Regions from separate parts of the Homo sapiens genome. Here regions 2, 3, 4, 5 and 6 are each linked to region 1. Evidence: promoter capture Hi-C in 16 types of primary human blood cells and fetal thymus (Javierre and others, 2016). All regions are on one chromosome and are shown on one strand. Each heading gives the region's core, a stretch centred on a gene start or on the middle of the fragment in contact. The rest is flanking DNA. Distances are from core to core; before and after follow the strand shown.

What was found. Contacts are between HindIII fragments. The CHiCAGO score rates a contact against its expected background, and 5 or more counts as called.
Region 2: a contact is called between a fragment that was not itself captured here and the fragment with the promoter of TRIM62 in region 1, in 3 of 17 cell types (neutrophils, monocytes and endothelial precursors). The highest score is 6.1, in neutrophils.
Region 3: a contact is called between a fragment that was not itself captured here and the fragment with the promoter of TRIM62 in region 1, in 1 of 17 cell types (naive B cells). The highest score is 5.0, in naive B cells.
Region 4: a contact is called between a fragment that was not itself captured here and the fragment with the promoter of TRIM62 in region 1, in 1 of 17 cell types (naive CD8 T cells). The highest score is 5.0, in naive CD8 T cells.
Region 5: a fragment that was not itself captured here is called in contact with the fragment with the promoter of TRIM62 in region 1 in 2 of 17 cell types (neutrophils and fetal thymus); the score reaches 6.9 in neutrophils.
Region 6: a fragment that was not itself captured here is called in contact with the fragment with the promoter of TRIM62 in region 1 in 2 of 17 cell types (naive CD4 T cells and naive CD8 T cells); the score reaches 5.4 in naive CD4 T cells.

The regions. Positions count from the first base shown.
Region 1 is chr1:33,178,906-33,183,931 of GRCh38, reverse strand. TRIM62 (tripartite motif containing 62) reads left to right here and starts at 1,889. Exons shown (of 5, transcript NM_018207.3): 1 at 1,889-2,907. The coding sequence starts at 2,500. It also overlaps a transcript of ZNF362 not described here. RefSeq lists silencers at 1,715-2,024, 2,255-2,324, 2,915-3,114 and an enhancer at 3,197-3,366. The HindIII fragment of the contact is 3,969 bases long and covers 91-4,059 here.
Region 2 is chr1:33,420,779-33,425,804 of GRCh38, reverse strand. The region is part of intron 1 of PHC2 (polyhomeotic homolog 2); the gene reads left to right. Among named protein-coding and RNA genes, the nearest start is that of PHC2, 7.8 kb to the left of the region's middle. The HindIII fragment of the contact is 1,196 bases long and covers 2,198-3,393 here.
Region 3 is chr1:32,938,812-32,943,837 of GRCh38, reverse strand. RNF19B (ring finger protein 19B) reads left to right here. Exons shown (of 9, transcript NM_001300826.2): 7 at 1,379-1,586. Among named protein-coding and RNA genes, the nearest start is that of RNF19B, 23 kb to the left of the region's middle. The HindIII fragment of the contact is 935 bases long and covers 2,058-2,992 here.
Region 4 is chr1:32,956,069-32,961,094 of GRCh38, reverse strand. The region is part of intron 1 of RNF19B (ring finger protein 19B); the gene reads left to right. Among named protein-coding and RNA genes, the nearest start is that of RNF19B, 6.2 kb to the left of the region's middle. The HindIII fragment of the contact is 796 bases long and covers 1,975-2,770 here.
Region 5 is chr1:33,380,123-33,385,148 of GRCh38, reverse strand. All of the region lies in intron 1 of PHC2 (polyhomeotic homolog 2), which reads left to right. Among named protein-coding and RNA genes, the nearest start is that of PHC2-AS1, 32 kb to the right of the region's middle. The HindIII fragment of the contact is 3,537 bases long and covers 258-3,794 here.
Region 6 is chr1:33,043,176-33,048,201 of GRCh38, reverse strand. No RefSeq gene overlaps it. Among named protein-coding and RNA genes, the nearest start is that of AK2, 8.8 kb to the right of the region's middle. The HindIII fragment of the contact is 3,184 bases long and covers 905-4,088 here.

The DNA.
Region 1 (5,026 bases), core at 640-3,139:
TGACAATGCACTACTGTTAAACTGGCTTATGCAATAAGATGGACCATCTCACATATCCTGAAGTCCAGACTCTGCATCAGAATAAAAGCTTCTCTTCCCTAGGACTCTCTTGGCCTTGCCCTCCCTTCTGTATTTGCTGCATCCTCAGACTGGGAGCAAGATGGCTGTTGCAATTCCAAGCATTGCCACCAAACATATCCCAGCAAAGGGGGCAGACTGTTTTGCAAAGTAAAGAGACCATTTCCTGAAAACCCCTCTCTGCCATAGGCTTCCCCTTTAGTTTTTCAGGCTGGACCTGCCCAAACCGTCACTGGCAAGAGGAATGAGACCACCATAATGGACTTGGACCAAACAAGACTCACTCCATGAGACCACCATAATGGACTTGGACCAAACAAGACTCACTCCTGGAAATGGGCTGGGGTCAGCCTTCCTTGGGTCACTTGGGGAAGGGGGCCACCTGACCAAAATCAGGGCTCTGCCCATAAGAAAATGTTGAGAAACTGCTGTTGCATGAGCAACCAACTATTTTTCTCGCAATGATGGAGATTCTGGGCCAGATGAGGGTGTGATGGAGAAAGTGTTAACCATAGAGAACTAAACTGAGAGCTTTTTCATAAACTGTACCTCAATAAAGTTTAACACCAATGAAGATATTTCTGGAGGAGGCAGAAACTGGTAGCCACCCTCTATGGCTCATTTCCCTCACCCCCGTATCCAACCATCACCAAATGTCACCGTGTCTGTACTTGCAATACCCTAGTCTTCTCTCCTTACCCACTGCTGAGGCCCCAGTTCGGGTCTCACCTCCTGCAGGCACGATGACAACAGCACCTTAGGGGTGCCCAGTCTTTCCTTCCTCCTGCAACCCAGGGCGTTGATGCGGTTATTCAGCTACACACCTTTACTGTGTGCTGAGTGCTGTGCATCCGCAGACACATTGGAAAAGCTCCCTGTCTTCTTCACCTTGCAGATGGTATAATGATTATCTCCAAGACTTCCTGAAACCCAATCGGACCAGGTCATTCCCTTGCCTGAAAGCCCCATGCCTTCAAGAAATTCTTTACCATGACCCACAATGCCCTCCAGCCCACCCAGGCTCCTTCTCCACCCCACCCCCAACAGTACAGAATTACTAGCACTTCCTTCACTGCGCCCTCCCCTTTCACGCCTCTATGCTTTTGCACAGGCTGTCTCCTCTGCCTAGAAATCCCTTATCCCCTCTCCATCTGGCACACAAGACAAGTTCTCCTATTACTTTTTCTCCCTCTCTCCTGCTCCACCCCTCACCGCCTTACACACACACACACACACACACACACACACACACAAATACAGCACTCCAGAATTGTTTGCCAATGGAGGCAGCCTCCGGGGCCAGATGTTAGCCAGGGCTTTCCAAACTTCTCCCCAAGCACTCCTTAAGAAAGTGAAGAGGAAATGGGACCCCAGGGCTTAGGAGTGTGAGGGCCTTGAACTCGCTCTAAGCAAGCAGGGCATTTCAAGAGTTTTATCTTTATATTTTATGCAGAAGTTGTATTCCAAATATATTCTTGTTCGTTTTAATACAAAATATGATTTTTTCTACATCTTCAAATCGATGATCCAGAAAGATGCTCCTTGTTTATTTGTTGTGCTCTCAAATTAGCTGCTCCGCCTCGCCGCGGGGACCCTAAGCGAGACCTGGATGCAGTTCCAAGTACACACCCCGAAGGAACAGCTGGGCTTCGCTTCCCTGGGAGCTGGAGGATGGTGGGGGTGGGGCGGGGTCAACCGGCTGGTGGCCCCGCCCCTCCCCCGCCCGCTGCGGGGGCGGAGTTGCTTGGGTCCCGCCCACGGGGGCGGGGAGGCAGCCGCGGCCACCGGCAGCTCGGATTCGGCTGGTTCCGGGTTGAGAGGCTGCGCTGGACCGAAGCGGTGGCTGCTAAGCTCGCGGGGGTAAGGGGTCGCGCTGGGCCAGGGTTTGGGGCCGGGATCCGGCAGCTGAGCGGGCCGGCACCCCTCCTCTTCTCTGCCGGTCACAGCCAATGTACGGCTCGGCCTGGCTGCCCCCTCCCCCAGGATTCCCCATCCCCAGCTTCTCGCCCTCCCCGCACCGCCCCCACCCCGGGATTTCGACCCCCTTAAGGGCTCCACCCCGCTCCGGGATCCCCTTCTCCCAGCTCCTATCCCTTAGGACTGCCCCGCCCCCTAGAACCTCCCCGTCAGGATCTCCGTCCCTCAGCCGCTCACAGCCTCCTCCCAGCGCCCATCGCCTTGAGCTGCCCACTACCTCTAGACTGCCCTCCCGGGCTGGCGTCCCACGGAGTCTCAGCCGCGCACCCCTTCCTCGCGTTACCCTCCTTCCGGACAGCACCCCCTCCCTTCTCCGGTAGCTCCTACCCCTGCCTGTGCGGGCCTCGTCCCCGCGCCCAGCCCTCGGTGCTGCCTCCGACAGCGCCGCGCTCTCTCAGCCGCCCCCCTGCCCCTCGGGCCCCCCTCTCTGCTGCCCCTGGCGCCATGGCGTGCAGCCTCAAGGACGAGCTGCTGTGCTCCATCTGCCTGAGCATCTACCAGGACCCGGTGAGCCTGGGCTGCGAGCATTACTTCTGCCGCCGCTGCATCACGGAGCACTGGGTGCGGCAGGAGGCGCAGGGCGCCCGCGACTGCCCCGAGTGCCGGCGCACGTTCGCCGAGCCCGCGCTGGCGCCCAGCCTCAAGCTGGCCAACATCGTGGAGCGCTACAGCTCCTTCCCGCTGGACGCCATCCTCAACGCGCGCCGCGCCGCGCGACCCTGCCAGGCGCACGACAAGGTCAAGCTCTTCTGCCTCACGGACCGCGCGCTTCTCTGCTTCTTCTGCGACGAGCCTGCACTGCACGAGCAGCATCAGGTCACCGGCATCGACGACGCCTTCGACGAGCTGCAGGTGCGCTACCCGGCCTGCCTGGGGAAGGGGCGGGGCCGGGCTGGAGGTGGGGCCGGGCGGGGGGTGGGGTCAGGGCTGGACCGCGGGCCAGGCCCAGTCAGAATGGTCCTGGGGCGGGGCCGCCAGCAAGGTCAGGGCCCTATCAGGAGTAACGCGGGGCAGGGAGGGGCGGGGCCGCCGCATGGCGGGGCCGTGGGGGCGGGGCCTTGGGCAGTCCGGACCCTGAGGGATCTGAGACAGACCTGGAGTACCGGCTGGTCCGCGGTTAGGGAGAAGTCGGGGATGCGGATGGGATGGCGGAAACAAGTGAGATCAGAACTGGACCAGATACTGGGCTGGGGCAGGGTTGTGGACGAACCGGAATCAGAGTTGGGCAAAGGCAGGGCCACTGTCAGACTGAGGGCGAGGTCGCGAGGATGGGTCTGTATTAAACCGGGTAGCTGAGCTCTGGCAGGCTGGGGGTTCTGTGGGGGCGGAGACCGGATCAGATGTGCATCAGGACTAAGAGGAGTACGGGGGCTAGAATGTGCTGGACAGGTGAGGGTGAAACCTAATAGAGTGGTATAAGTTAGGGTGCCAAAGTGCTGAGAGGGCAGGTTTGAGTACCGAGGGTTAGGCCAAGGTGTATGAGGGGTTAAGACTGAGATCAGGTCCGGATACTCTACAACAAGTTTAGATTTAAGCCAGAGTAGAGGCCAGGTTGAGTGGGGCCAGGACTTAAAGGTAAAGATTTGGAGAATAAGGCCCAGATGTAAGGTGATTCAAGAAGGGAGGGGCTAGACCTCTAGGAGTCTCTAGAGGTTTTTGATGACCTCTTTGGCTCTGTCCCCCACATCAGGACTTTTGAAGACTAAGTGAAACGGTACATGCAGAGTGACCTGAGCATAGTTGGCATAGAACTCTAATCGGTCTCCCTTAAGACTTCCTGTCTTCACTGACAAACTCCTACTCAACTTTTATTGAGCCTTGCTCAAATATCCTCTCCGTGAAGCCTTCTCCAAGTTCCACTGGTCAAACAAACAAACAAACAAACAAAAACATTAGAACTGCATTTCCCCAAATGCTCTCTATTAATAAGTGTGGGAAATATAGTATATTTTTTATACCCACCCCCTTGGAGAATTTTCAGTGTGCATTTGCATATTAAAAGCTTAGAGAAATTTTGTTGCAAATAAATCTATTTTACTGTGTTTAATAAAATGGTTCCCAAGCTTACTTGGGCCTGGAATCCTTTTTTCAAGCTAAATCACTTAAATCCAGCAGCCCCATGTACCTGGCTTTGGGATACTAGTCGAGCACGTAGTTCTCCAAGGCCAGAGACAGAATCTTATTTCTCCTATCTATGGCCCCAAAGCCTGGTGCAAGGCCTGGCCCACAGTACACACCAATAAAGGCCAAATGAATGAACGAAAGAATGACCAACCCTGGCCTAAGCTGGACCACACTGTGGAGCGTTTGGAAGCAGAAGGTTTTTGGCTCAAACATTTTATGAAAATGGAGTGGGCTAACTTGGGAGGTAATGAGCTCTCTGGCCTCGAGATACTCAAACAGAAACTAAATAATTACTTTCCCCTGTATTGTAGGGGCTCCCAACCCCTCCACACACTAGTCTTTGAGTAGGCCTGCACCCAGCAGATGCCCATGGGCCTCAGGAGAAATGGCCCATGTTCACCATCGCTCCTTCCCTGTCCCTTTTATCTCAAAACTACAACTGACTCCCTTCCAGTCTAGCTGTCTGAGGATGAAGGCCCCATCAGAGGGTGAGCAAGGGCCTGGGCCTCTGGGAGCCTGCACAAGGCTTGGCCCTCCACCCCCAGAGCCATCGTTTTAGGCGCTGCTGCTGTCCATCTCCCCGTCTATGGAGTCACATAAGCAGGAAGAGTTTGAGGGGACTCTGTCTGAAACCATCTGTCCAACCTCTTCATCATGTAGGAATGGAAAGTGAGGCCTGGAGAAGTTATGTGACTTGCCCAAGGCCACACTTCCAGACAGTGAGAGAGCCAGGGCTATAGGGCACAGCCTGACCCAGATCCCTCTTCTCTGATCTCTCCCCTCCTTGTCTGACCTTCTAGCCTCTGCTTCAGAGCCTTGGTTCTCCTGTCTGCAAACCAGGAAATCC
Region 2 (5,026 bases), core at 1,546-4,045, 240 kb before region 1:
TACATCATGAAACACAGTTTACATGGCTGGGCTGGGTCTTCTCCATAGTCTCCTAGTTATGCTGTGGCATGGTCTCCATAAGGCACTGTAGTAGTTATCCACTGCTGTGTAACAAATTACCCCAACATTTACCAGCTTAAAACAAAATTTTCTACTTATCTTTTAAGACTCAATTCAAGCATTACCTCTCAGAAGGCATTTCCCAGCTTGCTTTTTAAGAATTAGTAATCTTCCTCTTTGATATTTCTTCGTACTTCAGCATCTCATTATAGCATTTACCACATTGTTATAATTGCTAGGGACCATGTCTTTTTCATACCCTTAACTTCAGTTCCTAAAACTATTTCTTGAATGTCACAGATGCTCAGTAAATGGTTGTTAAAAGAGCTTAAGAATAACTCATACCTTTATCGGCTTTCACTTTATTCTTTATAAAACGTAGGTATATTGCAAAGTATCCAGCCTTGTTTCCTGTGATAGGCTCATATATCGTTGTTGAAGGTTAAATGTAAAGAAACGTTGTATATGTCCAAGACTGCTTGACTTGCCAACTTATCTACTCCAGTGAAGACTTCTTGAATTTATCTTTATCTATAGGTCTCTGTGCCATTCCTAGTCTGAAACCAATTCTGGCCCTTATAGGAAATTATACAGTGAGCACCCCTAGTCCAAAGATACTTGGTTCAATAATAAAATCAACATTTGTTCACTATTCAGATATTTGACTCTTAAATTTTATGAGGGTACATCTGTGTCTGGCTTATTCACTGCTCTTTTCCCGACACCATGCCCTAGTAGCTGCACAGCAAATACTTAGTGAATGAATTAATGAAACTCAATTCTTGATAATTCATGTCCCATTCCTGTTATCCAGGTCCTGACCTCTGATCACCCAGAATCTTAGGCCTGATTCATCATTTCATGTGACCCAGACTTTTTGTTTTGGTCCTTGACTTTTATCTTCCAGGGCCTTATTATGGCTGGATAAGAATCTGACTCCTTGCTTACTCAGAACTAAAGTATCTCTTTGTTTCTTGATCGTCCTAACTAATAATATAGGCCAGATGCCCTTAGAAAAATATTATTTTCTCTACCTGAAGCCAGAAACATTCCGAATACATATTAAATGTATTTAAAAATATTTAAACTGAAGATAATTACATTCAAATTTCTAAAGAAAGTGAACAGGCCCTTTGAGAAACAAGTTTTGGGCAGAGACCAGCGTCTAAAATTTTGTGAGTCTATTAGAATGATTAACTTGTAAGCTTCAGCAAATCAATGCAAATTAATTTTTATACCCACCAGTGAATCAAAGGAGGGGAGGGAATTGAGTGAGTGTGTAAATATGGTTGCTAGGGAAACTTTTCCTGACAGAAGAGAGAACCTCGCAGGAATTTTTACAGGCCCACAGAAGCAATGTAACCTGATCTTTCTCTGTTCTCTTTCTAATGGGGGAAGAAAAGATGTAGAAACCATGGGTACAGATAAAGGTGGCTTTAGACTTTTCAAGAGACTTGAGGAGTAAGTTCTCCAGAACAAATGATGACTATTATAAGGCACCCGTTCGTTTTAAGGAACCATCTGGAAATGAATCTATCTCTAAAATAGTATTAATGAATCAATCTCTATAATAGTATTAATTTACTCAACAAATATTCAGCACTTTCTTTTTTTTTGTTTTTTGTTTTTTTTGTTTTTTTTTTTTTTGAGACGGAGTCTCGTTCTGTCGACCTGGCTGGAGTGCAGTGGTGCAATCTTGGATCACTGCACCACCTCCGCCTCCCAGGTTCAAGCGATTCTCCTGCCTCAGCCTCCCGAATAGCAGGACTACAGGTGTGTGCCACCATGCCCGGCTAATTTTTGTATTTTTGGTAGAGATGTGGTTTCACCACGTTGTCCAGGGTGGTGTTGAACTCCTGACCTCGTGATCTGCCCTCCTCGGCCTCCCATAGTGCTGGGATTACAGGCATCAGTCATGTGCCCGGCCTTATTCAGCACTTTCTAAATAAAAAATATGTATTTTCATTGTCCAGAAGGAAATACAATTATAAGCAGTTGATAATTTGAAAGTACTGCATTACACCTAGTTCTTCCAAGTTTTGCCCCAAATTAATTTTTTTAGTATAGGGTAATGTGAACTTAATTAAATATTTAATGCTGTTTCTAGAAATAAAATTCTGCTTCTGTACAAAAAGCTTAACAGGAGTGTATCTTCTGTTATTTCTATTCTTTGGTTGCTGCTCCTGAGAAAAAACTAATTCATTGGTCCATAAAGCCATACCCCAAAGTAGATGTTCATCTAGTGACAGTGTCATCTTAATTTTAGATATAGTACCAGTGTAGGACACATCCGTCTCCTTGATGGCTAAAATCATGAGATCCTTCTTATTTTAGCTGTACGGGATGGATGGTTTCAGGTCTTAAAATCTTGGCTGTAAAATGCATTTGGATTGAAATATGGAACACTGTCCCATATCTGAAGCCTACCATTCAGTGTCTCCATTCCTTCTCTTCCCACTTTTATTTTGTTTTCAGTTACAAATAAGGCTTGCATTTGTTTGAAAAAGTATATACTTTTTAAGCCCTTTAATACTTCAATGTGCTAGAGTTATGTTCCAAGCACAGTATCTTCCGCTGGCCTGCAGAGAGGCAGTTGGAGGTAAGGGTTCACTGCAGGGACACTAGAGCCATAATGCTGGGGTTCCAGCCTTGCCTCTGCCACTCATGAGCTGTGAACTTCCCAGCCGCCTTCCATCTGTACTCTCTCTGCTCTAGTCTTCTTGGGTATAGTGGGGGAGAATCACAGTCCCTACCTCGAAGAATTATAGAATTAAACAGGTTAATAATGTGAGGTACATAATAAGAATTGTGTAGGTTTTACCTTTCTTTATTTCCTGGGGCCTCCTAGATAGAATTGATATTTGAAGGAAGAGAAAGTTGAGATGTATAAAGGTATAATAACTTGCCTAAAGTATACAGTAAATTTAGGCTCAGACTATTCTCATTCTTAAATTACCAAGGAAGTTTTCCATTCCGCCTAGTAAGAGAGAGAGAAAATGAGAATTAGAATAAGAGGGCAGAACTTGGCTTTTAGGGCATTTTGAAATAGAGGTTACTTCACATAAGATGGTGACACTAAAGCCCGTGAAAATGAAATTGCTTTCTCAAAGGCAGAGTATTAGAAATGGTTTGGAATAATATAAGTAGGGAATGTGGTACTAGGTCAGGCCCATTGTATAACCAGCCAAAAATTTGGTTTCTGATCATGATAACAAAGCTCAGTTGGAAGGGTGTATTGTAGCTTCAAGCCATGACAAAATCTTCTGATTACAGGGATGGGCTTGCCCATCCTTTTAGTATCCTTCTGTCTTTGTTTACCTGAGTATTTAAGCTTTATTTCTATTTTTGGCCTCTACAATCATATTTATTTATTCAACAAACATTTAATAAGCTTCTATACCTCACTCTAGCAGCTGGGGGGATTCAAAGATGAGGAGAACCCAGGCCAGGTACTACAGAGGTTTCTAAAGAAAGAAAGACATGGAAACATTAATTATGGTATTGTACTTAGTACCATAATAGAAGTATGGTCCCTGCTTAGAAATGTTAGGAAAAGTTTTCTGGAGAAAGTGACAGGGTAAGAGGAAGCTTCTCAGCCAGACAGAAGCAATGTCTGCAAAGGTGAGGTTGTATTTGCTTGAGAGAACACATATGGGGGGACCTCCAAACAACCTTTCAAGACCACAGCAGAACATTTGAGGAGGGTCATTGCAGAAATAAGGCTGAAAAGTAGGCTGGCATCAAATCACAAAAGGCTTGGTTTACCAGGCTAAGGAATTTGGACTTTATGGTGGAGGCCATAGGGAGCTGTTAAAGCCCTTAGGAGTAACGAGATCAGATCCGCCTTTTAGAAAGAACACATCAGCAATGTGAAGGGTGGTTTGGGCAGGAGTGAGACCAGAGACGGAATCATGCAGTTAGCGAAGAACCTTTAATGAGCCTTCTCGTCTACTGCCAGTATGTTTACTCTTGAATATATATGTTTGTTCATTCAACCCCAGTTTGTTAATGGCATGTGAGATACTAGACTCACTGCTGGAAATACTGAGAAACAACACACCACCCATGTCTTGGAGTTGCTTGCAGTGTTTTATTTGTCCTAAACACAAACGTTCTTGAGTTTTCAGCTTCTCTTGTCTATCCTCTGTTTCATCTCAGTCCCGGGACTGGGGTTCTGGTATGTTGAAATGAGCTCATTTGGGTTTATCTTGTCTGTACTCCTCATGACATCACCCATAACTCCTTCCTTTCAGCCTTCATATTTCCAGAGTGCAAAGTTCTAATCATTTAATAAGTTCCTGTAGAGAATGCATCCATTTTACATCCCTTTACTTAGACTTCTGCTATTTAAATTCTTATTTTTTTTCTTATTTCCCCCAACCTCAAGTACTGTGTGTCAGCGCTCTTAGTCACACACTTTGCCCTACTTCCTGTCCTTTACTAGCTTACAAAGTCCCGTCTTTATTCCTCTTTTCCTGTTTCCCCAAGGATATGCATACCAGAATTGTAGACTACATTATTTTCTTTGCTTTTCTCATGTGGGTGCCTTTCCCCCATGAGATCACAGTCCCCAGAGGAATAGCTCCTGACAATAAAGAAACTGAAGATAAGACAACATTTCTCCTGAAATAGAAGAGATGGAGTTGTATTAGAAACGGTAGTGTTTATTGCATAATAATAATTGGAATTACAACTTATTGAGTGCTCATAGATGATAATTGTCATGCTAGAGCATAACGTTAATTCTTATTTAATCCTCACAGCTACTCTGAGGTAAGTACTCATGTCATTTCCATCTTACAGATGAAGAAACAGGCTCAAAGAGGTGAAAATAGTCTGGGCACAGTGGCTTACACCTGTAAACACAGCACGTTGGGAGGCTGAGGCAGGAGGATCACTTGAGCTCAAGAGTTTGAGACTAATCTGGGCAACGTGGCAAGACCTTGTCTCTACAAAAAAATTTAAA
Region 3 (5,026 bases), core at 1,276-3,775, 240 kb after region 1:
GTACTTGCCTCTGTGTGGCAGGTACAAACTAGTAGGAATCCAAGTAACTCCAAGTATGCTGGTAGTAGTAGTGATTATAATAACATCTTTATATCTGCACAGTACTTGATAATTTTCAGAGTATTTTACACAATTATCTCACTTGCTTTTTACAACAAACAGCTCTCTGACGAGGGAGGATGGAGCTGTTATCCCCATTTAAATGGGAATTTCTTTTTTTTTTTTTGAGACGGAGTCTCTGTCACCCAGGCTGGAGTACGATGTCGCGATCTCGGTTCACTGCAACCTCCGCCTCCCAGGTTCAAGTGATTCTCCTGCCTCAGCCTCCTGAGTAGCTGGGACTACAGCAACGTGCCACCACGCCTGGCTAATTTTTTTTTTTTAGTATAGACGGGGTTTGGTGTTTCACCGTGTTAGCCAGGAAGATCTCGATCTCCTCACCCCATGATCCGCCCACCTTGGCCTCCCAAAGTGCTGGGATTACAGGTGTGAGCCACCACATCTGGCCTAAATGGGAATTTCTTTAAGCTTTCATCTTACTATCTATTAAGAGCTTCACAGAGCTGAGACTAGGGCAAGTCTTCTGACTTTTACTTTAATGTGGTTTCTACTCGTAGTAAGTAACGTAGGGCACAAGTAACGTAGAAAACCCCAAAGGTTTTTCTAGCTTCCTTTTTTCTTTTCTTTTTTTTTTTTTGAGACGGAGTCTTGCTCTGTTGCCCAGGCTGGAGTGCAGTGGCATGGTCCTGGCTCACTGCAGGCTCCGGCTCCTGGGTTCGCGTCATTCTCCTGCCTCAGCCTCCCGAGTAGCTGGGACTACAGGCACCCGCCACCACGCCCGGCTAAATTTTTTGTATTTTTAGTAGAGATGGGGTTTCACCGTGTTAGCCAGGATGGTCTCCATCTCCTGACCTCGTGATCCGCCCGCCTCGGCCTCCCAAAGTGCTGGAAGTACAGGCGTGAGCCACCGCGCCCGGCCGGTTTTTCTAGCTTTCTACTAGAAGCTTCCTATTAAAATCAGCACATGACCCAAACATATTTTTTAAATCTTCACGTTTGGTTACATGGAAGCAACAGTGTAGTGGAAAGAATAGTGGCCTTGGAATCAGAGTTATAGTTTCATGTAACTACCATGGCCTTGGACAAGTCATTTAGTTTTAAATTTTAGTTTTCTCATCTAAAATTGAGGCTATTAATGCCTAGTTATTTGGAGGATTAAATATGAACATATGTTAAAACACCTGATATGTGGCGACTGCACACAGTACCTGTTCATTAAGTAAATACATTAGTTCTCTGAAAAGTCATTGCAGGAAAATGCCTACTGACTGTTTTGATGCTCTGCTGTCTTGAATTGGATGTTTGGTTCTATCCCCAGTGGCAGATGCCTGGAGAGCCCTCAAGAATCCCAGCATTGGGGAAAGCAGCATTGAAGGCCTGACTAGTGTATTGAGCACTAGTGGAAGCCCTACAGATGGACTTAGTGTTATGCAAGGTCCTTACAGCGAAACGGCCAGCTTTGCAGCCCTCTCAGGGGGCACGCTGAGTGGCGGCATTCTCTCCAGTGGCAAGGGAAAATATAGCAGGTAAACAAATAGATAATTTCTGACAGAAATGGTTAGAATTATAAGAAGTAACACATTGAGCCATTTCTCTGTGCCAGGCTTGTGCCACGTATCATCTTATTTTGATTTAATTGTCAATGGTTTTGTTTTGTTTTGTTTTTACTTTTTTATTTTTAAAGACAGAGTCTCACTCTGTGGCTCAGGCTGGAGTGCCATGGCGTGATCTCGGCTCACTGCAAGCTCCGCCTCCTGGGTTCAAGCGATTCTCCTGCCTCAGCCTACTGAGTAGCTGGGATTACAGGCACCCGCCACCACGCCCAGCTAATTTTTTGTATTTTTAGTAGAGATGGAGTTTCACCATGTTAGCTAGGATGGTCTCAATCTCCTGACCTCGTGATCCGCCCGCCTTGGCCTCCCAAACCGTTGGGATTACAGGCATGAGTCACTGCGACAGGCCTTTTTTTTTTTACTTTTACAAATAGGAAACAAGCTTAGAAAAAAAGGTTACGTCAGTTATGCAAAGTTCATTGTTCTTTCCATTGCACCATAGCTGCCTCTATATAAAGAATAATCCTGACTTGAGATTCCCCCTTGACTGCCTGAGGCTGCCTGCTTCAGGAAGGGAGAGTAGGCATTTTTATAGAATTCGTAAAATGCTCTCCGTTAGGCTTGTCATTGGCTTTCAGTAGCATTTATGCTGTATCATGGCTTATTTATTTTATTTTATTTTTTTGAGACGGAGTCTTGCTCTGTCGCCCAGGCTGGAGTGCAATGGTGCAATCTTGGCTCGCTGCAGCCTCCACCTCCTGGGTTCTAGTGATTGTCCTGCCTCAGCCTCCCAAGAGGCTGGGACTACAGGCGTGCACCACCATGCCTGGCTAATTTTTGTATTTTCAGTAGAGACAGGGTTTCATGTTGGCCAGGCTGGTCTCAAGCTCCTGACCTTGTGATCCACCCGCCTCAGCCTCCCAAAGTGCTGGGATTACAAGCATGAACCACCACACCCAGCCCATCATGGTTTATTGATAGTGGGCTTTGGGGATTTTTTTTTGTTTTTTTTCTCACTGTGTCATCCAGGCTGGAATGCAGTGGCACAATCATGGCTCACTGCAGCCTCAACTTCCTGGACTCAGGCAATCCTACCACCTCAGCCTCCTGAGTAGCTAGGACTACAAGTGCACACACCACACCCAGCTAACATTTTAAATTTTTTGTAGAGATGGGGTCTTGCTCGGTTACCCAGGCTGGTCTTAAACTCCTGGCCTGAAGCCATCCTCCCAACTTGGCTCCCAACGTGCTAGGATTATAGGCATGAACCATTGCCCCCAGCTGGTTTAGTGATACTGCAATCCTTATTACCTTTCTATTTCCATTTGCTAGATAAGGAAAATCAATTCTATGTACTTGTGTTGAAAATATGTAAAGCTTTGTAACTAAAAAGATTGTGACTTGCTTGGTCATTTCACTAGTTAGGCAGACCAGAGTGTATATTTTCAGAGGAGCATAACATGTTGCCTGAGAAGCAGTTGAATGCAACGGAGAAGAAAGGCCTAGGGAGGGGTAAAGGTAGAACAAAGCAGGATAGGAAGGTAGAGGAGATGGTTGCCTTCAGCTATCCAAAGGACCTTCAACTGTGAAAAGGATTAGACTTCTATGCCTCATACCAAAAGGTAGATTAAGATGACTTGGCAGAAGCTAAAGGGAAACTAATTTTGGTTCAGTATAGAGAATATAGGGAAAAGCAACATGAAAGCCCAAAGAGGAAAAAGGCTACTTTAGTAGATACTGAGCTGCCTATCCCTGGAAATGTTTACAATGAGACCAGATGGCTATTTGGCTATAAGAAGGATTCAAGCAACAGATGGCAGGTGGACTGGATCTCCCACCTGAGTGCCTGTCAATCACTTGGGAGCCTCTTAAAAATAGACTTCAGGGACCCATCCCAGAATGAGTAGCTTAGAATTTCCTGGAGTGGCACCTAGGGGGTGATCCGTGTTTTGCAAAAGCTCCCCAGGTAATTCTAGCACAGCCGTTGCATGAACCAGCATCTGACAACCACCTAAGTAGGAGCCCTTTCTGAAAGACTCTTCCAACTCAGAGTGATTCTGTGGCAGACCTGAAACTAGAAGCCAGGTCTCTGACACTGTGCACTTTCCATTGCATTCCCTCATTTCCCTGGGCCTTGGCACATTTTTGAAGGGCACCTGAAGCTGGAGCAGCAAAGCAAAGGCTCAGGCAGTAGGATGGAAGCTGCTTGAATGTGCAGCTGCAGGCTGCTACTGACCCGTCTGTGCATCTCATGACTCTGGTTGTCTCTTATCAGGGGATCCCGCCCCCACATGCTGGCATATTCACTGCTGTGCTTTCTTAAAACCAACACCCCTGTAAATAAGCAGACAGACATAATTGGAGACTGACTTGCTGAAACTGCAGCTTAGCCAGTCCAGCTGTTCTAGTTCTGTGAAAGCCTTTATTTTATAGGAAGTGAATGAGTCAGATGGGTTTGACTGTGAAACCCATTATAAGGAAATACTTAACTGTGCAACAAAGTGATGTTGGAGCCAAGAAAGGCAATAGTTATGGGCTCTGAGACACTATTGGGAAAGTTTGCTGCTCCAAGAGGAGGGAAGAGGTTGGCTCCTGTATGTCCTTCAGTCTCATTCCCTGGAGGTAATTTGATTGTTAAATGTTTGATTTCCTATTATGTGCAAGGCAGGGAAGGTAAAGTGTGTATGAGTTGTGGTCTCTCCTTTTGTGGAGTTAACAGACAAGTGAGAGATGCATAATAATAAGTAGGCAGGGCCTGCGCACGCCTGTAATCCCAGCACCTTTTTTAGGTGGGTGATCACCTGAGGTTTAGAGTTCAAGACCAGCCTGGCCAACATGGTAAAACCCCATCTCTACTAAAAATACAAAAATTAGCTGGGTGTGGTGGTGGGAACCCATAATCCCAGCTACTTGGGAGGCTGAGGCAGGAGAATCGCTTGAACCTGGGAGGCAGAAGTTGCAGTGAGCCAAGATCGTGCCACTGCACTCCAGCCTGGGTGACAGAGTGAGACTCCCTCTAAAAACAAATAATAATAAATAAGTAGGCAGGTGCTGTGGGAGTACTTAGCAAGAAGTGAATGGTTTGCTGGGATAATGAGGGGAAGTGATAGTTCCTTTGTTGTTAAGGACTGAGTATAAGTTTGTCTGGTAGAGAAAGGAAATTTCTAGAGAGACAGAATAGCATGTGCAAAGTCATGGAAGTATAAAATGTATAGGTATTTAAAGAAAGAAAGAATTCAGAGTGACTATGATTTCGGATCTATAGGGAGTGATAGAACTGGACAGAGAGCTTCCTGGCAGATCAGGAAGACCTTAATGCCTGTTGGCAGTAGGGAGCCAAGAGTTAGAGAATTGTTAGAGTGATTGGGTCTTTATTCACACTGGCACTGTTCTAGAGGTTGTTTGACTTGGAC
Region 4 (5,026 bases), core at 1,123-3,622, 220 kb after region 1:
TAAAATTCTGTTAGTTGCCAAATAGATGCCTGAGTTCTCCCTTGGGATGTGCCTAGTGGCTTTGCATCTCTTTTTTTTTGAGACAGCGTCTCGCTCTGTCACCCAAGCTGGAGTGCAGCAGTGGTGCAATCACGGCTCACTGCAGCCTCAATCTCCTGGGCTCAGGCGATCCTCCTGCCTCAGCATCTCAAGTAGCTGGGAACACGGGTGCATGCCACCAAGCCCAGCTAATTATTATTATTAATATTATTATTATTATTTGTAGAGATAGGGTCTCCCTGTGTTGCCCAGGCTGGTCTCGAACTCCTGGGCTCAAGCTGTTTTCCCGCCTTGGCCTCCCAAAGTGCTGGGATTATTGCTGCCTCTTTTTAATGCCAGGAAAAAAAATAGCTTCTGTGTTCTTACTGGATGTCATGGTTCCCTTGTTTTGTTTTGAACAGTGTTGTTTTGTTTTGTTTTAGAGACAGAGTCTCACTCTGTGCCCAGGCTGGAGTGCAGTGGCATGATCATGGCTTACTACAACCTTGAACTCCTTGACTAAAGCAGTACTCCCACCTCAGCCTCCTGAGTAACTGGGATTATAGGCACGAACCACTGCACACTGCTCCTTTGTTTTATTTTTTTAAACAAATCGTTCTATTCTTCTGGGGCTGGTAGAGGTCATTGATAAACACTAGAAGAGAAGTCCAAGTCCCAGTTACCTCCTATTCCCATACCTGACCATCTTTACTGCCCACAGATAAAGTTCTTGCCAGCCAAATTGATCAGGTCTCCCCTCTGCCTTGTTTGTATGTGCATTTGGTAGGGTGAGGGGGGCATGTGAGCAATCTTACAGGTTCTGATCATTAGTTTTACTATAATTACTCATAATAACAAGAACACCATACATTCAGAGATTCATGATTTGTTTACAGAATATTTGTAGGATAGAGCAAAGAGTTTTGGATTTTTCTTCTCTTACACTCAAATATGGTTTTATTTTATTCATAAATAAGGGAACCAATTTCAGTGGGAAAACATTCACATTATAATTTTTTTTTTTTTGAGACGGAGTCTCGCTCTGTCACCCAGGCTGGAGTGCAGTGGCACCATCTCTGCTCAGTGCAAGCTCTGCCTGCCGGGTTCACGCCATTCTCCTGCCTCAGCCTCCTGAGTAGCTGGGACCACAGGCGCCCACCACCACGCCTGGTTAATTTTTTTTTTTTTTTTTTTTGTATTTTTAGTAGAGACGGGGTTTCACCGTGTTAGCTAGGATGGTCTCGATCTCCTGACCTCGTGATCTGCCCACCTCGGCCTCCCAAAGTGCTGGGATTACAGGCGTGAGCCACTGTGCCCGGCCTCACATTATTATTTAATATACTAAGAACAATATGGCCTAGTATAATCTTAAAACAAGCTGTCAAATGAGATAAAATTAGTTCAAAATACAAATAACTGATTTTTTATAGTTCTTTATAGTCTTCAGACTATAATCTCATTCAGACATAATTTCATTTTAGTCTCATCCAGGTGGATATTGGCGTGCATTTTATAAAGGAGAAACCAGTTCAGAGAAGTTTAAACATGGGGCCTAGTGTTTCATTGCTAATAATTGGTACAATTGATCTTTTACGCTTTTGAGTCTCTGCCCAAGTATGTCTTTTCAGAAACCCCGAAGTCAGGTAACTGTAATGTTTTCCTCTCAAGTATCCTGTTGCTAATCTTAAAACCCTTTCAGAATCTCTAGGAGACTGACGGGTGAGCAAAGTAGGCAACAGAAAATTTCCTGGTGTACAGGGGCAGATCTTCTGTACAGATGAATAAGAAGGGATAAGGCTGTCTTGACCTAAATTCTTTGTGCAGGTCCACCACTCCAGCCTTTCATTGCTGCCTCTGTCCTCTGCAGAATCCTTCCTCCCACCTGATCCCAGGAAACAGTATCAGCTATTGGCCTTCCCAGACAACTAGACTGGACCATCCCATAAACAGGAAGCTTTTTTCATCCCTAGCACATTTATGAGGGAAGATCAAGCAAGCTCTTTGAGCAAGACAAATTTCAGTCAGTGAAGGAGGATTTTTGCTTTCTGAAGCCTCCCTGAACCTCTTCTCTTGATTTGGCTCCATACCTCCTGTTCCACAACTTTTCCCTGCATTCCCCAACTCCACACCACCCCCTCCTCTTGTGCACGTACACCAACCTCCATCCCAATACATCTGTCTCAGATTTGCCAAAGTACTTGTACTAAAGGAGAACATCTGTATCACTCCCCTGCCTAAGACTATTCATTGACTACCTAACCTATAAGATGAGTTCTTATTATGTCTTTGAGAACTTATTTGATCTACCCTTATCATTTAAGCTCCTTTACAGTTTCCAACCATCTTTTTTTTTTTTTTAGATGGAGTCTCGCTCTGTTGCCCAGGCAGGCTGGAGTGCAGTGGTGCAATCTCGGCTCACTGCAAGCTCCACCTCCCGGGTTCATGCTATTCTCCTGCCTCAGCCTCCTGAGTAGCTGGGACTACAGGCACCTGCAACCATGCCTGGCTAATTTTTTGTATTTTTAGCAGAGACGGGGTTTTACCGTGTTAGCCAGGATGGTCTCGATCTCCTGACCTCGTGATCCACCCATCTCAGCCTCCCAAAGTGCTGGGATTACAGGCGTGAGCCACCACGCCCGGCCATCTCCAACCATCTTTTGATTTTATTTTCTATTTTTCACTCACATCACTATTTCCTAAGGTATGTTATAGGCATTACTTGAAAGAAAAATGTTTTGTGAGGAAATAAGCTTGGAAAATACTGAGTTAAACAAAATAAAACAAGTTTATGAGTTTCTTAAATCTTTAAACATGCTAATATGCTAATATGTAGTATAAATCTTCAATATAATGTAATTTCCCCAATTTAGATCACCAGGAAACAGGTTTTTGTTTTTTCTGTAGCATCTTTAAGGCTTAACTCAAACTTTCCCTAAACTCCTTTAATAGTTACCATGCTGGCCTGCCTTTGGTTAGTGTCCTTATTTAACCATAAACCTTATGCTCTGAATAGATTGAGAGCTCATGTCTCTAGACTAGGATATCTATATTCCAACCATTTCTACAACTCTGTGTACAAAGTCTTTCAATTAGGCTCTAGAAGAGTGTGGTACATAGATGAATTTTGATGAAAAAGATAAGAAATATGAGCAGCATAGTTCTCAGAGGAAGAATAGAGATGAAAGAGATAAGCAAGAATAGTATAGACAGGTGATCATTCAATTCAACAGACAACTTTTTTTTGAGATGGAGTCTCGCTTTGTCGCCCAGGCTGGAGTGCAGTTGTGCCATCTCAGCTCACTGCAACCTCTGCCTCTCGGGTTCAAGCGATTCTTCTGCCTCAGCCTCCCAAGTATCTGGGATTACAGGCATGTGCCACAATGTCCAGCTAATGTTTGTATTTTTAGTAGAAACAGGGTTTCACCATGTTGGCCAGGCTGGGCTTGAATTCCTGACTTCAAGCGAGCCACCCGCCTCACCCTCCCAAAGTGCTGGGATTACAGGTGTGAGCCACCACACCTGGCTTCAACAGATACTTTCAGAATGATACACTGTTGAACCCTGGGTGAGTACTGGGTATTTCAAAAAGAACTTAGACATGGTTTTCTTGATAGGAAGTTTCACCTGGTAGAGGAGACAGATAATTGATACATAGATAGATAGAAAATTATTCAAATGTCATATGATAAATACTAAAGAAAATACGGGTGCTCTTAGATAGATGAAAGAACAATAGAATTTGCATGATGGTTTCAAGAAAGACTTCACAGAGGAGCAGGCATGGTGGTGTGCACCTGTGGTCCCAGCTGCTTAGGAGGCTGAGGTGGGAGGATTAGTTGAGCCCAGGAGTTCGAGACCAGCCTGGGTAATAGCAAGACCCCATACCTGGGAAATGACTAGAGATCAACCTGAAAACGTGGACTGGATTCAGGTTGATAGGCCTGTGTAAGCCATGGAAATAAGTTTTGGGTTGAAGCACTTTTTTTCTTTTTTCTTTTTCTTTGAAGGATTTTAAGCAAAAGAGTAACCTTCCAGAATGGAATTTGGATGGAGTGGGGAATAGGGAGAGCAGATAAGGAGGCTCTTGGAGTTGTCTAGCCTAGAGATGGGTCTTAAATAGGGCAGGAAAAATGAAGATGTTAAGGGTACAGTTCATTGTGACAAGTTGGCGCATGTCTACCACCCTGATGCCTACTAGGGGTCTATTTGTAAATGGGTAGCCTAGTTATGTTACATGACTTGGGGATGGAAAGTACAGACATAATATAGGAACACATTTCTTTAACCACTGAAGTCTATTGGAGCATAATCAAATTTATACTAATGGAAATCTCTTTCCAGGGCTGAAGCTAAGTAATGCTGTGGTCTAGCTTGTCACTTTATGAAGTTTCTGAAGATTTAGGAAATTAATAAAATGAGTAAAAGTTGTATGAACTTAAGCAGCAGGGGCTGGGGTGGGCGGTCTGTAGTCTTTTTCTTTTTTATTATTTTTTATTTTTTTGAGATAGGGTTTAACTCTGTAACTCTGTTGCCCGTGCTGGAGTGCAGTGGTGCAATTTCAGCTCACTAGAACCTCAACCTCCCAGGCTCAGGTGATCCTCCCACCTCAGCCTCCTAAGTAGCTGGGACTGCAGGCATGTGCCACCACACGCCACCGCGCCCCACCACACTCGGCTAATTTTTGTTGTTGTTGTTATTTGAAGAGAGAGTCTCACTCTGTCACCCAGGCTGGAGTGCAGTGGTGCAATCTCGGCTCACAGCAACCTCTGCCTCCTGGATTCAAGTGATTCTCCTGCCTCAGCCTCCCGAGTAGCTGGGAGTAGCTGGGACTACAAGTGCACGCCACCATGCCCAGCTAATTTTTTTGTATTTTTAGTAGAGAGGGGTTTTGTCAGGTTGGCCAGGCTGGTCTCGAACTCCTGACCTCAGGTGATCCACCCACCTCAGCCTCCCAAAGTGCTGGGATTACAGGCATGAGCCACCATGCCCGGCCTAATTTTTGTGTCTT
Region 5 (5,026 bases), core at 777-3,276, 200 kb before region 1:
GACCACAGTCCCACACCCATCACTTCAACACCACTCATCTTTCATTTCCCCTCTCCATTCCCAAATCAAAATTTACATGTCCTAGGCCCTGTTGAGAGTAGCCATCTGGACCCACAAATTTGAGTAAAGGTGCTAATGGCTACTAATAGTTTCAAAGGTCCCTTCTCAGATAACATGGTATTTGCACAGTGTGTTTCGGTATTTTAACCTTGGGTTCCTCATCAGGAGGTGAAGAGCTTCCCAAAGAGCTTCAAGCTTTATTCATTCCTCATTTAACAAAATCTTACTGTTGCTGGCTCGGCACCATGTTAGGCATTAGGAATCTAAAAATAATGGAATCACTACCTAGTAAATAAAATCAGCTGTCCTGCTATGCTATTAAAGTTCAGAAGAAGGCACCAAATCTAGGCTGGGGTACAAAAAGGAAGTCCCTAAGAGGAACAGACGTTATAGCTGAACTGCAAAGGGTGAATGCGCTCCGGCCAGGGAGATGGAGAGTGAGGGGCCTGGGGAGTGGCCCAGGCAGAGGGAAAGGTCTGGGCAAGGGGTGAGACAGCATATGACTAATTCTGGAATCAGCTGTGTGGGAGCACGTGGTAGGCAATGAAGCTGGAGAGAAACAGGAAGATCCCTAAACAGAGTGCTGCCAACATTTTCTTTCCACGTGGAGGTATTTTGAGGTTTCAGCAGGGAAGAAACTATGTTTGGTAACTCTTCCCATCTCAAATTCTAGCCCCTTTTTGCAGGGACTTCATTATGACCATCTTATGGCATCAATGATGACTGCCCCTTTTAAATCTCATATTCAAATGGATAGTGGGGCCCCTTAGAGCAGTGGCTCTCATGCTTCATCAGCATCAGAATCTCCCAGAAGGCTGTGAGAACACAGGCTGCTGAGCCCTGCTCCCAGAATTTCTGATTCCGTAGGTCTGAAGTGGTGCCTGAAAATTTGCATTTTTGGAGAGTTGCCAAGGGACCACATTTTTGAGAAGCCTTGCCTTGGAGCATACAAAGCCATGATATTAACGAGGCTGTTTTTAATGCCTTTGCACCCTTTTTTACCATTAGTTTCAGTTGACCTTTTTAGGCTGGTCAGGTTGAGTATTAGGCAGCATAATAGTTCCCTAAGGCCGCCTTAACAAATTACCACAAACTGGGTGGCTTAAAACAACACAAATGTATCATGTTACCGTTCTGGAGGCTGGAAGTATGAAATCCAGGTGTCGGCAGGGCCATGCTCCCCCTGAGTCCTTCCTCGCCTCTTCCTAGCTTCTGGTGGCTGCAGGTGTTCTTTGGCTGGTGGCAGCATAGCTCCAATCTCTGCCTCCATCTTCACGTGGCTGGCTTCTCCCCGTGTGTGCCTGTTTTCACATGGCGTTCTTTTATAAGGACACTGCTTATATTTGATTAGGGGCCCATAGAAGACACAGAATATATTTTGCTCTGCCTTACAGCAGTGAGTCCAGGGCTGCCCAAGTCTAGACAAACTCATCCATCCCGTCCCCAAGCATTCAGCATCTGCACAGTGTGGCTTTCACTGTACATCCCTTCCAAAAGACAGCAAATCCTTCTTTTTCCTCCTCATATTCTTCAACCAACCAGCACCACCTTGTTATAGAAATACTTGATATAACCTGCCTTTTATAAATTAGGAAGAAAACAGTAAGGTTTCAGAAAGTTTACTCATTTAAATTTATAGTGTTTTGCATCACAATGAAATCATTCTGTTTGGATTGCTAGGACTATATGACCAGCTTTAATTCCTCATCCTTCACTTCTATTTTTGTTGGCCTTCATTTACTTACTTTGGTTTCTAGAGACACTAAAGGTGGCAACATGCAGAGGACAGGGGAGAGGGAGGGACCTTTTGAGATGGTTTGAGCTGCATCCATTTGGACTGCTCCCAGTGAGTCAGTGGCTTCAGACTGGAACAAATCAGGACACTTATGTTCATGCAGCAGCCGAGAGGTGTAAGGAGGCCTCCCCCAGGTCCCCTAAGTCTAGGGAGTCTGAATCTTCTGTTATTACTGCCTTATGCCTCTGGCGGAGGGGCATCCAGAAAGGAGAAGCAGAGCCACAGCAAAGGAATATGTTCACCCATCTCTTCAGACTCTCCATACCAAGCCGCCTCATGATAATACCAGCAGCCACGATGGGGCTGACGAGACTTCTCATTTCCTGCCCAGCTCTGATTCCATTAGGAAAAACCTCACCCTGCCTTACCCCAGGGCTTTAGGCTAGATTTGGAGAGAGGTTTTCAGTATCCTTCCCCTCTGCTTTCCCGGAACCTCTGTCACAGCTGTAATCCACAGCAAATGGATTTCCCTGACACTGGGGACAAAGGCCTAGTGTTTCGTAGACTTGGCGGCTCCTGGGAGGGCAGAACCATCAGCGTTTCTCCAGCTGCTGGTCTCAGGCCCTGTGGGCAGCAGAGACCTGTAATAAGATCACTATCCAAGCCAGTTATATTCAGCACATCATTCAAAGTGGCCCATTGCAGTTAGGAGGGGAGAAGTGACTTAAATAGGAATCATAGCCCTTCAGAGCCCGGGCTCATACAAAACCACACAGTGAGTAGGAACCCAGAGAAAAACAGACTTCTAGTTCTTGATGTTAGCCATTAATGAGATTTGGCTGTGATTTATAATGGGAGTCCGCAGGGATGGGTGGCCTTGGGGAAGAAATAAAGAACTAGTTGGAAGAGAAGGAAAGAATAAGAGTAGGAATTAAAAGGAAATTGAAAAGGGGTGGGTAGAATACTGAAAGCCTAGATACTGTGAAAGTTTAAGGATTCAGATTTTCTAATGTGGGTCACCAGAGGGAAGGATGTAAGGAGAGTCCACAGATGCCTCAGTAGCCCTTACTGAGACTGCAGAATGCCTCCGCTACTCTCCAGCAGCCAGAACTTTGAGCGGAAGGAAGGTGTGAAGGGGGAGATATGAAAGCTCTGGTTCAAAAAGGGGAACTGTAGAAAAAAAAGTTTTAAAGCTGTTATATGGGTCCACACTTACTAATTATGTTTTCTTCCAACTCAAGTTCCCTTCTACTAGGAGACCAACAATAAAGTGACATATGGCAGGACCCTAGCTTCTGGTTTCTCTGCAGGGCAAACTTCACCTCTCTCGTTGATAAGTCACCACCACCATGCGGGCAGGAGGTTTCCTGAGGTGCCTTCCATGGTACTGGATGAGAATCAGGGGAGCCATATCACCCCAAGTCACTTACCTCCCCCACACTGGGTCTCCGTTCTTGCATAGAAAAAACAAGGGAGATTATGGTAATTTTTGATTTCTCATACTGGTTGATGGATACACAAGCATATTATCCTTTATATATATATTACATAGAATATTTTGTAAGTATAAATGGACATTAATTAACAATTAGGGAATTAAATTCAGAGATATCAGTTCGTTTTCAACTGAAAATCTAGTATGCTTTGACACGGACTTCACCCAGTGTGGCTGAAATAATGGCTCAAGGTGAAGTTGCAGAGAGGATCATGGGAAGCGCTCTGGCTTTGGAGTCGGACTTGGTTTTGAATCCCAGTTCTATGATGACCTTACATAAATTGCTTAGATATATTTCTCATTGACAAAATTGGGATAATCATACCTATACCATAAGGGAGGTCATAGTATCTATGATAGTGCTTGACAAGTAGTAAGTGCTCAATAAATAATCACTATTATTAGTATAGACACCATTGATGGAAGGTACTGAAGTGAAATCACAGGTGGCTGATGTTTTAAACTAGTTGGTGAGAAATTTGTGGATGAGGTAGAGATTAAGCTTTCAGATGAGGAGTAGGATGGAGTATGGTGCATTTCAAGCAATTTTATTCAACAAACATCTATGGAACGAAGCACAAGGTATTATGGGAAAATATGACATGATCCCACCCCCAAGCAAATCACTTTCTTGTAAGGCTATGTTGTAAGTGCTAGGAGACAGGCAGGCACAGAGTGCTCTGGGAGCAGCCTTTAAGCTGGATGGCTTAAAGGAAGACACTGGAACCTAATTTGAAGGAAGCAAGAGGAGAAGAGTTGGGGGGGTTGCATTCAGTGCATATTTCACAGGAGAGACTCAAGTTGTTTTGAAGATCTAAGGAGTTGGTTACATGAAAAATTGAAGGAAGGCATTTCAGGGGAGGGGAATAGCGTGAGTGAAACCACAGCGGTAAAAACCACAGAGGTAGGAAGTAGCAAGGCAGCCAAATTCCAAATGACCTGGGCACCTTGGTCATAATGCTGAGACCAGAGAGAGTGCAAGTGTGGAAAATGAGGCCAGGAAGGCAAAATGGGTCAGATCATGGAGGGTTTCACATCCCACATGGAGCAGCTTGTGGGGTGGGGGCACTGGGTGGGCCCAAGAACAGAGGTAATTCAACACATGATGCAGGGACAAATGGATATTCACATGCCCAAACATGGAATAACATATGACCCAGAGATTTCACTGCTAGGTTATACCCAACAGAACAGAAGCAAGGACTTATATGCCGTGTTCATTCCATTGCAACATTATTCACAATAGCCAAAAGGTGGAAACCACCCCAGTGTTCATCAACAGATGAACAAACACAATGTGGTGTGTATGTAGGTATACAATGGAATACTATTCAGCTATCAAAGGGAAAGAAATTCTCATACATGCTACAACATGAATGAACTTTGAAAACATTATGCTAAGTGAAACAAGCCAGACACAAAAGGACAAATATTAATATGCTTCCACTTAAATGAGCTATCTAGAACAGGCAAATTCATAGAGAATGAAAGTAGATTAGAGGTTAGGGGATAGGCAGGGGACAAGGGGGACTGAGGAGTTATTGCTTAATGGTTACAGAGTTTCTGTTTTGGGTAATGAGAAAGTTCTGGGAATAGATGGTGGTGATGATTGCACAACAGGTGAGTGTAGTTAATGGTACTGAATTGCACACTTAAAATCTAGTCATATTCTGAACTTTCCTTCTCTATCCTTTACATAAGTGATTGAGAGAGAGAGCAGTCAAGAGAGTGAGAGA
Region 6 (5,026 bases), core at 1,247-3,746, 140 kb after region 1:
TGTATGTAGAGATCTGATCACAGGGCTTGGTACCAATCCTTGCTCAATAAATGGTAACTTTTAAAAATTAATCGGTGGAGAACTCTGATCACCACAGGCAAGAGTAAAATAAAAGTCACTTCCTTCAGCTGAAACTGCTCTCATGTTAAAGGGCAAACTCCTTGAGGCCAATTCCAAGGGATTTTTCTCAGTCCTCACCTTTGACTCCGCCAGGAAGGAAGATTGTGCTATTGTTCATGAATATTCCCTGCCTCACCTACTGAGTGCCTCTCAGTGGAAGAAGTACATTCCTGGCCCCATTGACTGCAGCTTGTCCATGAGACTTGCTTTGACAAGTACAATGTAAGTGCATGTGACCTGTAGCATTTCCATGGCCTGTGCCATTTCTAGGCAGAAGGTTTAAGGGCCAACAAGAGATCCCATCATTTTCCTTTTTTCCAGTCCTGTGCTAGTAAACATTTAACAACTGGCTCTTCTAGAGGGAAAATATTTGCCACATTCTGTAGTATATGTACTTCCACCATAACTGATTTCAAGCTACCAATGTGACATTACTGAGCACAAAGTTGGGAAGAGATATACACTATCAGCTTTCTCTAATGCAAGTTATACCAGCATACCAGTGTACCTTTTCCCTCTCTTCCAAGAACCGAACCTTCAGCCTGCATCACCTGCAGCTAACATGTAACCCTTTCTGTAAGCTGATATTTTGGGGTTATTTGTCGCTGCAATATAACTTAGCTGAAGCTGACTAATACACTCCCAGAAACTTTTTATTTGGCTTTGGTAACACTCCTTCTTCATCATTTCTATCAATAAACACTAATCAGTGTCCCACTACATATGAGAGACAACATAGCATAGTGGTTAATAGAATAGACTGGAGAGGCAGACTGGAGAAGCTTTACTCACAGTTTCCAAGTGTCTGGAAGTAACTATAAAGGCCTAATTTGCATATCAACTGGGAACTCCTGGAAATGAGAGTGTCTCCAAGAGATATATTTGATGCATGTCCAGAGAATTCCTGAATGAAAGAATCTGGGATTGTCAAGCTGATATCATGAACCCCACATTTAACAGAGTTAAGTGAAGAGATGGGACAAAGGCCAGGCTTGGGAAGGAAGGAAAGATCAACAAAGGCCTTACAGGGCAGATAAAAATTGATAGAATGGGCTGAGGGCATTGGCTCATGCTTGTAATCCCAGCACTTTGGGAGGCCGAGGTGGGTGGATCACTTGAGTCAGGAGTTCAAGACCAGCCTGGCCAACATGTGAAACCTCGTCTCTACTAAAAATATAAAAATTAGCCGAGTCTGTTGGTGGGCACCTGTAATCCTAGCTACTTGGGAGACTAAGGCAGGAGAATCGCTTGAACCCAGGAGGCAGAGGTTGCAGTGAGCTGAGATCGAGCCACTGCACTCCAGCCTGGGCAACAGAGTGAAACTCTGTCTCAAAAAAAAAAAAGGGGAAAGAAAAAGAAAAAGAATGTGGTGGCCGTGCACGGTGGCTCATGCCTGTAATCCCAGCACTTTGGGAGGCTAAGGTGGGGGATCATCTGAGGTCAGGAGTTCAAGACCAACCTGGCCAACATGGTGAAATCCCACCTCTACTAAAAATACAAAAATTAGCCAGGCATGGTAGCAGGCACCTGTAATCCCAGCTATTCAGGAGGCTGAGGCAGGAGAATTGCTTGAACCCCGGAGGCAGAGGTTGCAGTGAACCAAGGTCACACCACTGCACCCCAGCCTGGACAACAGAGTGAGACTCCGTCTTAAAAAAAAAAAAAAAAAAGGATGTGGTGGGTAGAATGAAATTTCAGGTTTTCTTCTTTAGTCTCTAGTCATTCTCTGATTCCTTTCCCCTCAAGTGTTGGCTTCCCAGCTTTTAGTCGTCATTCTTCTCTCCTCTCTACCCTCCCACAAAACAAGCTCATCTCCTCTATGTCTTTGACGCAGGTAGTAATAGTTAACATTTACTGAGTGCTTACCATGAGTAGGGCACCGTGCTAAGTACTTTACATCCATTATGTAATCTGATACTCACTGTGATCCTGTGAAGTGGGTATCGGCATCCTGATTTTGCAAAGAGAAATTGAGGCCCAGCAGGGTTAAGTTACTTGCCATGTCACATAAGGTGCTTTGGGCAGTGAGTATCAGAATGCCGACATAGATGCGGTTTGAACATTAGGGGTTTATCTCTCATCACAGGAAGTGTGGAAGAAGGTGACATCTGAGTTGCTTAATTCAGCAGCTCAGTGATGTCAGACCCTAGGTCAGCTTCCCTCTGAGTCTCGCAGCTCTCCCCTCCTGGTCCCAAGATAGCTGCTACATTTCAAGCGCTGCATCATCCCTGAGGCAGGCAGGAAGGGAGTTTTTCTTCTTGTGCATCTCTTTTTCCTGGAAAGCAAAGCCTCCCACAAAAGCCCCCAAGAGAATTTCCCATAGGACCCTGTCTCCTCTCCCCCTTTTTTCTTTCCTTACCCTCTTGAGTTGTAACTCCAGCCAGACTGACCCTCTTTCAACTCTGTACCAAACAGAAGTCTTGGTGGCTAACCTAAGCAGTGAAGGAATTTATTGAATACTGTGAGGTTTTCACCAATTCCAAACATGAGTAGGAACCAAAAGTAATTAGGCTAAGAACACAGCCAAAGACATGGCACAGGAAAAGCCTACCTGGACAGCCACCACTGGCCACGGTCCACCCACTGAGGCTGGACTCTTACCTCCCCACCAAGAACAGGCCCTGCCCCTTCCTCTCTCTCCCTCAAGAGTCAAAGTCCTGGGCAGGACATCCCACTGGCCAAGCCTGGTCACGTGCTCACTCCCCTGTTGCCAAGAAGGCAGGCAAGAGTCTGCCCTTTCAGCTTCTGCAGGGTGGCTCTGTTTTCCCCCAAGTTCCTTGCAGTGAAGGATTTCCACAACACAAGAGGGGTGTTCCTCTGCCAAATATCACAGTTCCCCTCAACTTTCTATAATATTTCTTTTTTTTTTTTGGAGATAGGGTCTTGCTCTATCCCTCAGGCTGGAGTGCAGTGGCATGATCTTGGCTCACTGAAACCTCCGCCTCCCAGGTTCAAGTGATTCTCATGCCTCAGCCTCCCGAGTAGCTGGGATCACAGATGCTCGCCACCATACCTGGCTAATTTTTGTATTTTTAGTAGGGATGGGGTTTCACCATGTTGGCCAGGCTGGTCCTGAACTCCTGACCTCAGGTGATCTGCCCACCTCGGCCTCCCAAAGTGTTGAGATTACAGGCATGAGCCACCACGCCCAACCTCTTGTCATAATCTTTCTTAACTCCAGGCCTTTGCACATGCCATTCCCTTTGTCTAGAATACCCTTCTTCCCTCTCTTCCCTAAGCAAATCCTCCTTGTTCTTAAGGTTTCATCTCACTTACACATCATTTCCCCTCAAATCTGAGCTGGGGGCTCCTCTATTGTGCTGTTACTGAAGCCTGTACCTTTCCCAGCACAGACTCCGTCAATGTCTTATTTGTTGTTTTTTTTGTTTTTTTCCCCCGCTTGACTGCAAGTTCTGTAGAAGTGGAGAGTTTTCTTTTCTTTTCTTTTTTTTTTTTTGAGATGGGGTCTTGCTCTGTCACCCAGTCTAGAGTGCAGTGGCACAGTCTCAGCCCACTACAACCTCTGCCTCCTAGGTTCAAGTGATTCTCCTGCCTCAGCCTCCTAAGTAGCTGGGATTACAGGCACATGCCACCACACCTGGCTAATTTTGGTATTTTTAGTAGAGACAGGGTTTCACCATGCTGGCCACGCTGGTCTTAAACTCCTGACCTCAGGTGATCTGACCGCCTCGGCCTCCCAAAGTGCTGGGATTACAGGTGTGAGCCACTGCGCCCAGCCCGAAGTGGAGAGTTTTCTAAAGGTGGAAACCTTGCTTTTGTTTTGTTTTTAGAGACAGGGTCTCGCTCTGTCACCTGGGCTGGAGTACAATGGGCTAATTATAGTTTATGGCAGCCTCAACCTCCTGGCAGCAAGTGATTCCCACACTTCAGCCTCCCAAGTAGCTAGTGTAAGAGTTAAGAAAGAAGAAAGAAACACGAAACGTGACTTAACCCCTTAAAGACAAGCTTATTTTAGAGAAAAAATAAGGAGTGCTTTCTCTTACAGAGATATATATTGGTTTTAGGGTGAGGGGGCTTATTACAAGCTTGGAATGTTTATGTGTTGGGGAGAAGTTTATGGCGGGATTGGAATGTTCTGGGCAGAGGGGAGGTTATCTTGAGGCTGACATCTTTTCAGCAGGTGTGGGGTTATATTCAGGGCTGGCATCTTCCCAGCTGGAGGGGGGTTATTTCGGGGCTAGCATGTCTCTGGTTGAGGAGGAGTTTGGAATGTTTCTGGTTGGAGATGTTATTTGTGGTTTATGGTCATGCTGACCTAAGCCATTAGGCTGATGCCCTTTGGATTTAGACGGTTTTTGATTAAGGTGAATTTTAAAATGGCCGTGCTTGTCCAAGATGGTGATACTCCTGCTCTATCAGCTAGAACCAAAGGTGCATACCACCACACCGGGCTAATTTTTTAAATTTTTTCTGGGGTTCTCACAAATTTCAAACATGAGTAGAAACCAAAAGCAATTAGGCTAAGAACACAGCCAAAGACATGGTACAGGAAAAGACTACTTGGACAGACATGACTGGTCATTGTCCACCCACTGCTGCTGGACTCTCACCTCCCCGCCAAGAACAGACCCTGCCCCTTCCTTTCTGTCCCTCAAGGGTCAAAGTCCCAGGCAGGACCTCCCACTGCTCAAGCCCAGGCCATGTTGCCCAGGCTGATCTCAAACACCTGGCCTCAAGCAATTCTCCCACCTCGGCCTCCCAAAGTGTTGAAATTACAGGCATGAGCCACTGTGCCTAGACCGACCCTGGCCTCATTATTTACCACTGGATCCTTAGCATCTAGCACAATACTAGACACATAATAAATGCTCATTAAATGCATGTTGAATGAATCAGCTAATGAATGAATGAGATGAATACTAATGGCACCATCATCCCCCCCAGT